Regions from separate parts of the Homo sapiens genome. Here region 1 is linked to region 2. The links are contacts of gene promoters, found by promoter capture Hi-C in blood cells and fetal thymus (Javierre and others, 2016). All regions are on one chromosome and are shown on one strand. Each heading gives the region's core, a stretch centred on a gene start or on the middle of the fragment in contact. The rest is flanking DNA. Distances are from core to core; before and after follow the strand shown.

The links. The method cuts DNA at HindIII sites, captures the fragments that hold promoters and counts their contacts. A CHiCAGO score of 5 or more calls a contact.
Region 1: the fragment with the promoter of PRKAG2-AS2 here is called in contact with a fragment that was not itself captured in region 2 in 1 of 17 cell types (M1 macrophages); the score reaches 6.9 in M1 macrophages.

The regions. Positions count from the first base shown.
Region 1 is chr7:151,804,973-151,808,204 of GRCh38, reverse strand. It overlaps PRKAG2-AS2 (PRKAG2 antisense RNA 2), which reads right to left and starts at 1,867. Exons shown (of 3, transcript NR_171033.1): 1 at 1,169-1,867; 2 at 570-833. The region is part of intron 1 of PRKAG2 (protein kinase AMP-activated non-catalytic subunit gamma 2); the gene reads left to right. The HindIII fragment of the contact is 22,647 bases long and covers 1-3,232 here.
Region 2 is chr7:151,516,451-151,519,662 of GRCh38, reverse strand. It overlaps RHEB (Ras homolog, mTORC1 binding), which reads left to right. Exons shown (of 8, transcript NM_005614.4): 1 at 1-203. The coding sequence starts at 152. Among named protein-coding and RNA genes, the nearest start is that of RHEB, 1.8 kb to the left of the region's middle. RefSeq lists silencers at 1-87, 258-377, 88-517, 448-557 and an enhancer at 1,588-1,637. The HindIII fragment of the contact is 161 bases long and covers 1,312-1,472 here.

The sequences.
Region 1 (3,232 bases), core at 618-3,117, 290 kb before region 2:
CACTTGACAATGAAATCAACCCGAGCATCACCAATCTCTGGTGCTGGACTCAGCTGCCACCACTTTGACAAAGTCTGGAGTGCAGTGAGTGAGGACACTAGGTGATGGGTGGGGAGCCCCGCCCGCTGTGGCCGGGGTTCCTCACATTTTAAATATCTGCCGTCGTCTTGCTGCGGGGCGGTCCCTGTGCTCACTTGGGCAGAGGGAAAGGGGGTAGTTTGTAGGGAGGGGTTACGAAACTATGCCTTTAGCCTCTTCCTTCCTCCAGAGCCTTCCCTTGAGTCTAGCGTCCCCACTACAGGCTTCCCCCGACTTTTATTCTCCAAGCGGTTTTTCTGTTTGGCCGTTGTCTCCACCGCATCCAGATTTATCTCTTCTCTCCCCTATGCCTTTTGGGTCTTCTGAGAGTAGCTAATCCAATAACCCGCCAAGTCAGAGAAGGGTTCGGATGCACGAGTTCTCGCTCCTGGCTTCCTCTGAAATGCTGCCTTGACCCAAGTGAGGGGCCCGGGAATAGGCAGTGGAAACGGTTGTGTAGGTTTGGGACATCGCACCCTGCTGGGACTTACCTGTTGGAGAAACTGGGCTTTTGGTGGCAAACGAATCATTCTTCCTACCTCCGTGGCAGCTGTGCATCTACGCTGGGTTCTGGAAGGCGCAGTGCTGGCCATTTCAGCTCGTAGGTTGGGAAGAAGGGGCAGTGTGCCCGATCTGATAGGTGTAACACGCCATGGTGCTTTGGCACCAAGAGGCCAATTGAAACTGGAGAGTTTTAGAGAATAAAGTATGACCGTCACCCACAGCACAGCTGCTTCCTGAAAATTCCACTCCCGCTGCATGAAAAAGCACATGGAGTATTCCAGGATTCTTAATATAGGCATTTTCCCACGTTCTGTAGATTGCTTGTTTTTCTTCCCCTATCCCATGGGTCTGCTGGTGGCTGACTGGCCACTTTTTGGTCAGCTTTATTGAGGTGTGATTTACATATAATGCCCTTTGACTGACAGTATACAATTAGATGGGTTGTCGTAAGTGTGCACAGTCATGTGACCACCGCCACAGTGTGATCTGGAACATTTCCACCACTCCACAAGGTCCCTCTGACCCTTTACAGCCTCTGCCCTTCCCCACCTCCACCTTCAGACTTGAGGGTGGGTCCATGTCTTACCTTTGTGTATCCCATGTCCAGCGCAATTCTGAACCCAGGTGGACACAAGTGATGTTTAAATGAGTACATTAGGAGGCCTGGCTTTTTTTTTTCCCCAGGCTGGAGTGCAATGGTGCGATCTTGGCTCACTTCAACCTCCATCTCCCAGGTTCAAGCGATTCTCGTGGCTCAGCCTCCTGAGTAGCTGGGACTACAGCATGCACCAACACGCCCAGCTAACTTTTTATAGTGTTAGTAGAGACAGGGTTTTGCCATGTTGCCCAGGCTGGTCTTGAGCTCCTGAGCTCAGGTGGTCTGCCCGTCTCCACCTCAAAGTCCTCAGGTTACAGGTGTGAGCCACTGTACCCAGCCAGCTCTGGCATATTTTAAAAATCCTCCCAAGACTCCTTCTGTCTCCTCCCATTGATCCTAAATTTTGAAGGATTGTCCACCCAAGCATTTGTTAATTAGTAATTTCTTCATTTAGTCACTCACTCCTGGTACCAGCCTTCCTGATCAGCCTGAGATAATCAGCGTGACCGAAGTTGATAACATTCCAGCTGAAAGCAGAGACTTGCTGTTCTCGTTTGCCTATGCAGTCACGGGTGAAATGTGCAATTTCCTTTCCGTTCCTTGAGTGCCTGCGAGCACTGCGAGAGCCTCCATTGTTACTTTCTGTTATCTCTCACCCTAGACCAGAAATCGCCAGCCTTCACCACTGGCCTCTGCCTTTTTCTTTTTTCTTTTAATAATAAATGAGGAAGTTAGCCCTTGAGCAATTTAGGAGTTCACCCAAGAGCACCCCAAAAGGCTTGAAGTTTACAGGGATTTTTCTCTGTCCCAAACTGTTTGTTGTTGTCATAGTTGTTGAGACGGAGTCTCGCTCTGTCGCCCAAGCTGGGGTGCAGTGGTGGGATCCTGGCTCACTGCAACCTCCGCTTCCCGGGTTCAAGCGATTCTCCTGCTTCAGCCTCCTGAGTAGCTGGGACTACAGGCGGCCACCACCACGCCCAGCTAATTTTTGTATTTTTAGTAGAGACAGGTTTGGCCAGGCTGGTCTAGAACTCCTGACCTCAGGTGATCAGCCTGCCTTGGCCTCCCAAAATGCTTGGACTATAGGCGTGAGCCACTGTGCCCAGCCTGTCCTAAACTTTGTCACCAAGGATTTGATGTGTCCCTTCATTCTGCCTTCCTGAGCTCCCTTTCACTTGTACGTTGGGGAAGGATCTTGGCAAACCTGAAGGTAAGGTGGAATCTGCCTCTTTCCTCTCATCAAAGCTCTGAGAAGGAAGAATCTGTAGTGTCCCTGGGTTCAGTAATCATAGTATATTGCCTCTAAACTCAGTGAAGCATTTTAAAGTGATAACTCATGTTTTCCAAATGAGTCCCAGGCATCACAGCCATGTCTTTGTTAACTCATATGTGGTTCTATACTTCTATATGTTAACTCATTTTCCAGTAGGAACTCCCATGATTCCCAGTTTTTAGATTAAAAAACAGAGAAATGAAGTAACTTTCCCAGGGTTACATAGTCACAAGATCACCTATTGCTACATAACAAACCACCCCAAAACTTAAAAATATGATTTGAAATCATCTTTCATGGATTTAGGAGTCATCTGGCTCAGCTGAGTTCTCACTGGGGGTTCCTCCTATTTGAAAAGTCAGGTGGCAGCTGAGCCTGGCACATCCTAGAGGCTCCTTCACTCTCACATCACTCCCTGGGGCTGGCCGTGCAGCTGTTTCTCCATCCGTGCAGCCTCTCCACGTGGCTGGCTTGAGCTTCCTCATAACATGGTGGTCTTGGTGCAGATTCCTAACGTGGCAGCTGGTTTCACCCGCGGCAGACATTACAAGAGATCCAGGAGGAACTGCGAGGTTCCTTCTCACCTAACCCAGAAGTCAGGTGGTGTGGTTTCTGCTGCATTTCTGTTGAGCACAGCTGCCCCAACTCAAGGATGGAGGAACAGATTCGCCCACTCAACAGGAGACAGCACATGTATGCAGGGAGGGACCACATTCCTAGTGGCTGTCCTGTGGGCTACTTACCCCATGGAGCCCCTGTGCCTGCCATGCGTTGAGCCA
Region 2 (3,212 bases), core at 143-2,642:
GCGCGAGCTAGCGAGCGAGAGGCAGCCGCGCCCGCCGCCGCCCCTGCTCTGTATGCCGCTCTCTCCCGGCGCGGCCGCCGCCGATCACAGCAGCAGGAGCCACCGCCGCCGCGGTTGATGTGGTTGGGCCGGGGCTGAGGAGGCCGCCAAGATGCCGCAGTCCAAGTCCCGGAAGATCGCGATCCTGGGCTACCGGTCTGTGGGTGAGTGGCCGGTGGCCGCGCGGCCTCCTCGCGCCGCCGGGGCCTCGCCTGGGAGCCGGGTCGCGGCCGGGCCTGCGAAGTTTGGAGCCGGCGCGGCCATGTGGCGGGGCGGGCGGGGGCCGCGCGTTTCGTAACCACCATTCTGAGCGGAGGTGGTGGCGGTCGGGGCGGCGTCCGCGCCGGTGGAGGAGCCGCGGTAGCTGGGCGCCCTCCGCGGGCCGGGCGGGCAGGTGGCGGCCGGGCGGAGGGCGTGGGAGGCGCGGGGCGGGGGCCGTCGGCCGCCGAGGAGTCCGGGTCTCGTCTGGGGAAGTGAGGCGGCGCCGGGGAGCCGCGCTAGAGGCTGCCGCGAGGGAGTCACACCTGCCTCCCCGCCTTCGCCGCGGGCGCGCGTGACCGGGGCTGGCGGTCTCCCCCACCCCGCCCCCGATGTAAGGAAAAGAAAGTCCGTGGGATTTTAACAAAGGAAGCAGCGCCTCGGCTTCATTCCATCTGTGGTGAAGTTTACCCTTGTAAAGAAAACTAGGGATTTAGAGGACGTTTGGGCACTGAACGCAAGTTTTCTGCATAGGAAACCTAGGCGATCCCCCAAAAGAGGTCCCTCTGGAGGCCCTCGAGATGCTGCTGGCGGCCTGGGTAGGAAGACAGAGAAAAAGGAATGTCTGATCTCTCGGTGCCCTATTTTTGTTCGGGAAGGAATAAGGTCAGGTACTTGCAACCAGGCTGTTGAAGTAATTCCAAAGTCTTTTTGTTTTCTTTTTCTTCCCCCAAAAGGTTGACATACATTTGAAACAGTTCCTAGCAGTCGCCTTATTGCTGAATAAGGTGGCTTAGGGTCGGGTTGGGGGGCGGACGGGGTGTTACAGAACGAGCGGTTTTCTGGCCTGTGTGAAACCAGAGCGATTGAACTTAGACACGCTTCAGGGTGAGGCTGTATTGTCTCCCGACATCCGGAAGCCTGGAGAAATTAGTTCATCTTTTCGGGCTGTTTTGAAGTAACTGTCTATAGAAGGCGTGCACCGGGCCACAGTTGAGGGGATGGGGAGGTGAAAGCGAGGGTTCCGAGGCTCCCGTGATTGCGGAACGGGGTGACTATCTGTCATGGGAAGCTTGTACCTGCCTGCCGCTCACTGGATGCACTCCCCAACTGCGCTTTCCACCGCCTGTGCCAGGGTCTGTGCTCTTTGACCAAGATCAGCCACTGCATGCTTACTCATCCTTTTACCACCTCTCCGTCGAGAGCCGGGGGGAAATTAAGGGCTGAAAGAAGCTTGGCTAGAGATGCGGGGTGCCTAGAGTCGTAGGGGAACTCTTGTGCGATGCGGTGCTGAATCCGAGGGGATGCATAGGTGGCAGCTTTAACAGCTGCAGCCAGGAAGTAACCATGAATCAAATGGAGGGGTTCAAAGTCACTAATTGTTCAAATATCAACATGGAACCTGGGATCCAGCCTTTATTGGCAGCCTGAATCCATGCTCTTGTCTCTGTTCTCTTGATTTCCTCCTCTGCATTTTGAGGAGTTGGGACCGCGAGGTGTTCTGGCTCTTGGGTGAGCCTTCCCTAGTCAGTCAAGTAAGTACTTATTGGCAACTATTTGGAAATAGTAGTCCCTGAATAATCACGTTATAGGCAACAAGTACCTCGGCTACCTGATTTCAACCCAAGAGAATGACCTAAAGATCTTGACTGATTTACCCTTTTCAAATGTCGAAATGGTAGCTCTAGTCTTTGGTGAGCAGGGCTAGTTTTATCACTTTTTTTTTTTTTTTTTTGGCTACAGAAGTTCCTTATGTCCAGTTGAAATCCATTCTGTTTTATCTTCCCTCTATTCAGCGTCCTCCTGAGGACGGAGATGTGACAGGCCACCCCTTAGCCTTGTCCTCACAAACTGTTGCTTGTTAAATACTGTGCTAACTTAGTCTCCGGTGGGATACAGGGTCACTTTTAGTCCCTATTTTCTGTCTTCAGTATTTCATATTTCTGCAACCTACCCCACTTCTCCATATTTATTTTCAAGCGTAGTCATATTAAACGATTTTGGAGAGGTTAAGTTGCTCCCAATCTTGTATTTGATTTTTTTTTTTTTTTTTTTCCGAGACGGAGTTTCGCTCTTGTGACCCAGGCTGGAGTGCAATGGCGCGATCTCGGCTCACTGCATCCTCCACGCCCCGGACTCAAGCGATTCTCCTGCCTCAGCCTCCAGAGTAGCTGGCACTACAGGCGTGCACCACTATGCCCGGCTAATTTTGTATTTTTAGTAGAGACGGGTTTCACCACTTGGCCAAACGTCAGGCTTGTCTCAAACGCCTGACCTCAGGTGGTCCTCCCACCTTGGCCTCCCAAAGTGCTGGGATTATAGGCGTGAGCCACCATGCCCAGCCGCATTTGATTTTAAAGTGTATTATGAGCCAGGATATTTTGTAGTATGTGGGGTCTTTTTTAGGGGAAGGAGATTAGGTTTTGCCAGCAGGTTTCTTCTAGTAAGCCACCCTTTTGAGAATTACTCAGCATGCTCACTTCTGGGAGCTTACTGGCATGTTTGCTTGCAAATGGTGGTGCTGTACCAGAGAAATTTGAGTACCTGTGTTTCTAGATTGTGGTATTTTGTGATGCTGAGCTGTTTGTCCTATATTCTGGGGGTAGAGCCACATAAAAAGCCTCCACACCTTTCTTAGAATGTTCTCTTGATTAAATACATTAAGCCAGTTTGACTAGTAGGATACTTGTCATTGTGATTTGTCATGCCACAAACTTTATTTTTAAAGTTGTCTTCAGATAAAACAAAAAAGTGCTATGTTTGTTTAACTAGTTGGCTTTCTTTTTTTTTTTTTTTTTTTTTTGTGACAGAGTCTCACTCTATCACCCAGGCTGGAGTGCAGTGGCGGGATCTGGGCTCACTGCAACCTCTGCTGCCCAGGTTCAACCGATTCTCCTGCCTCAGCCTCCCAAGTAGCTGGGATAACAGGCGCCTGCCACCCCGCCCAGCTAATTTTTGTATTTTTAGTAGAGACT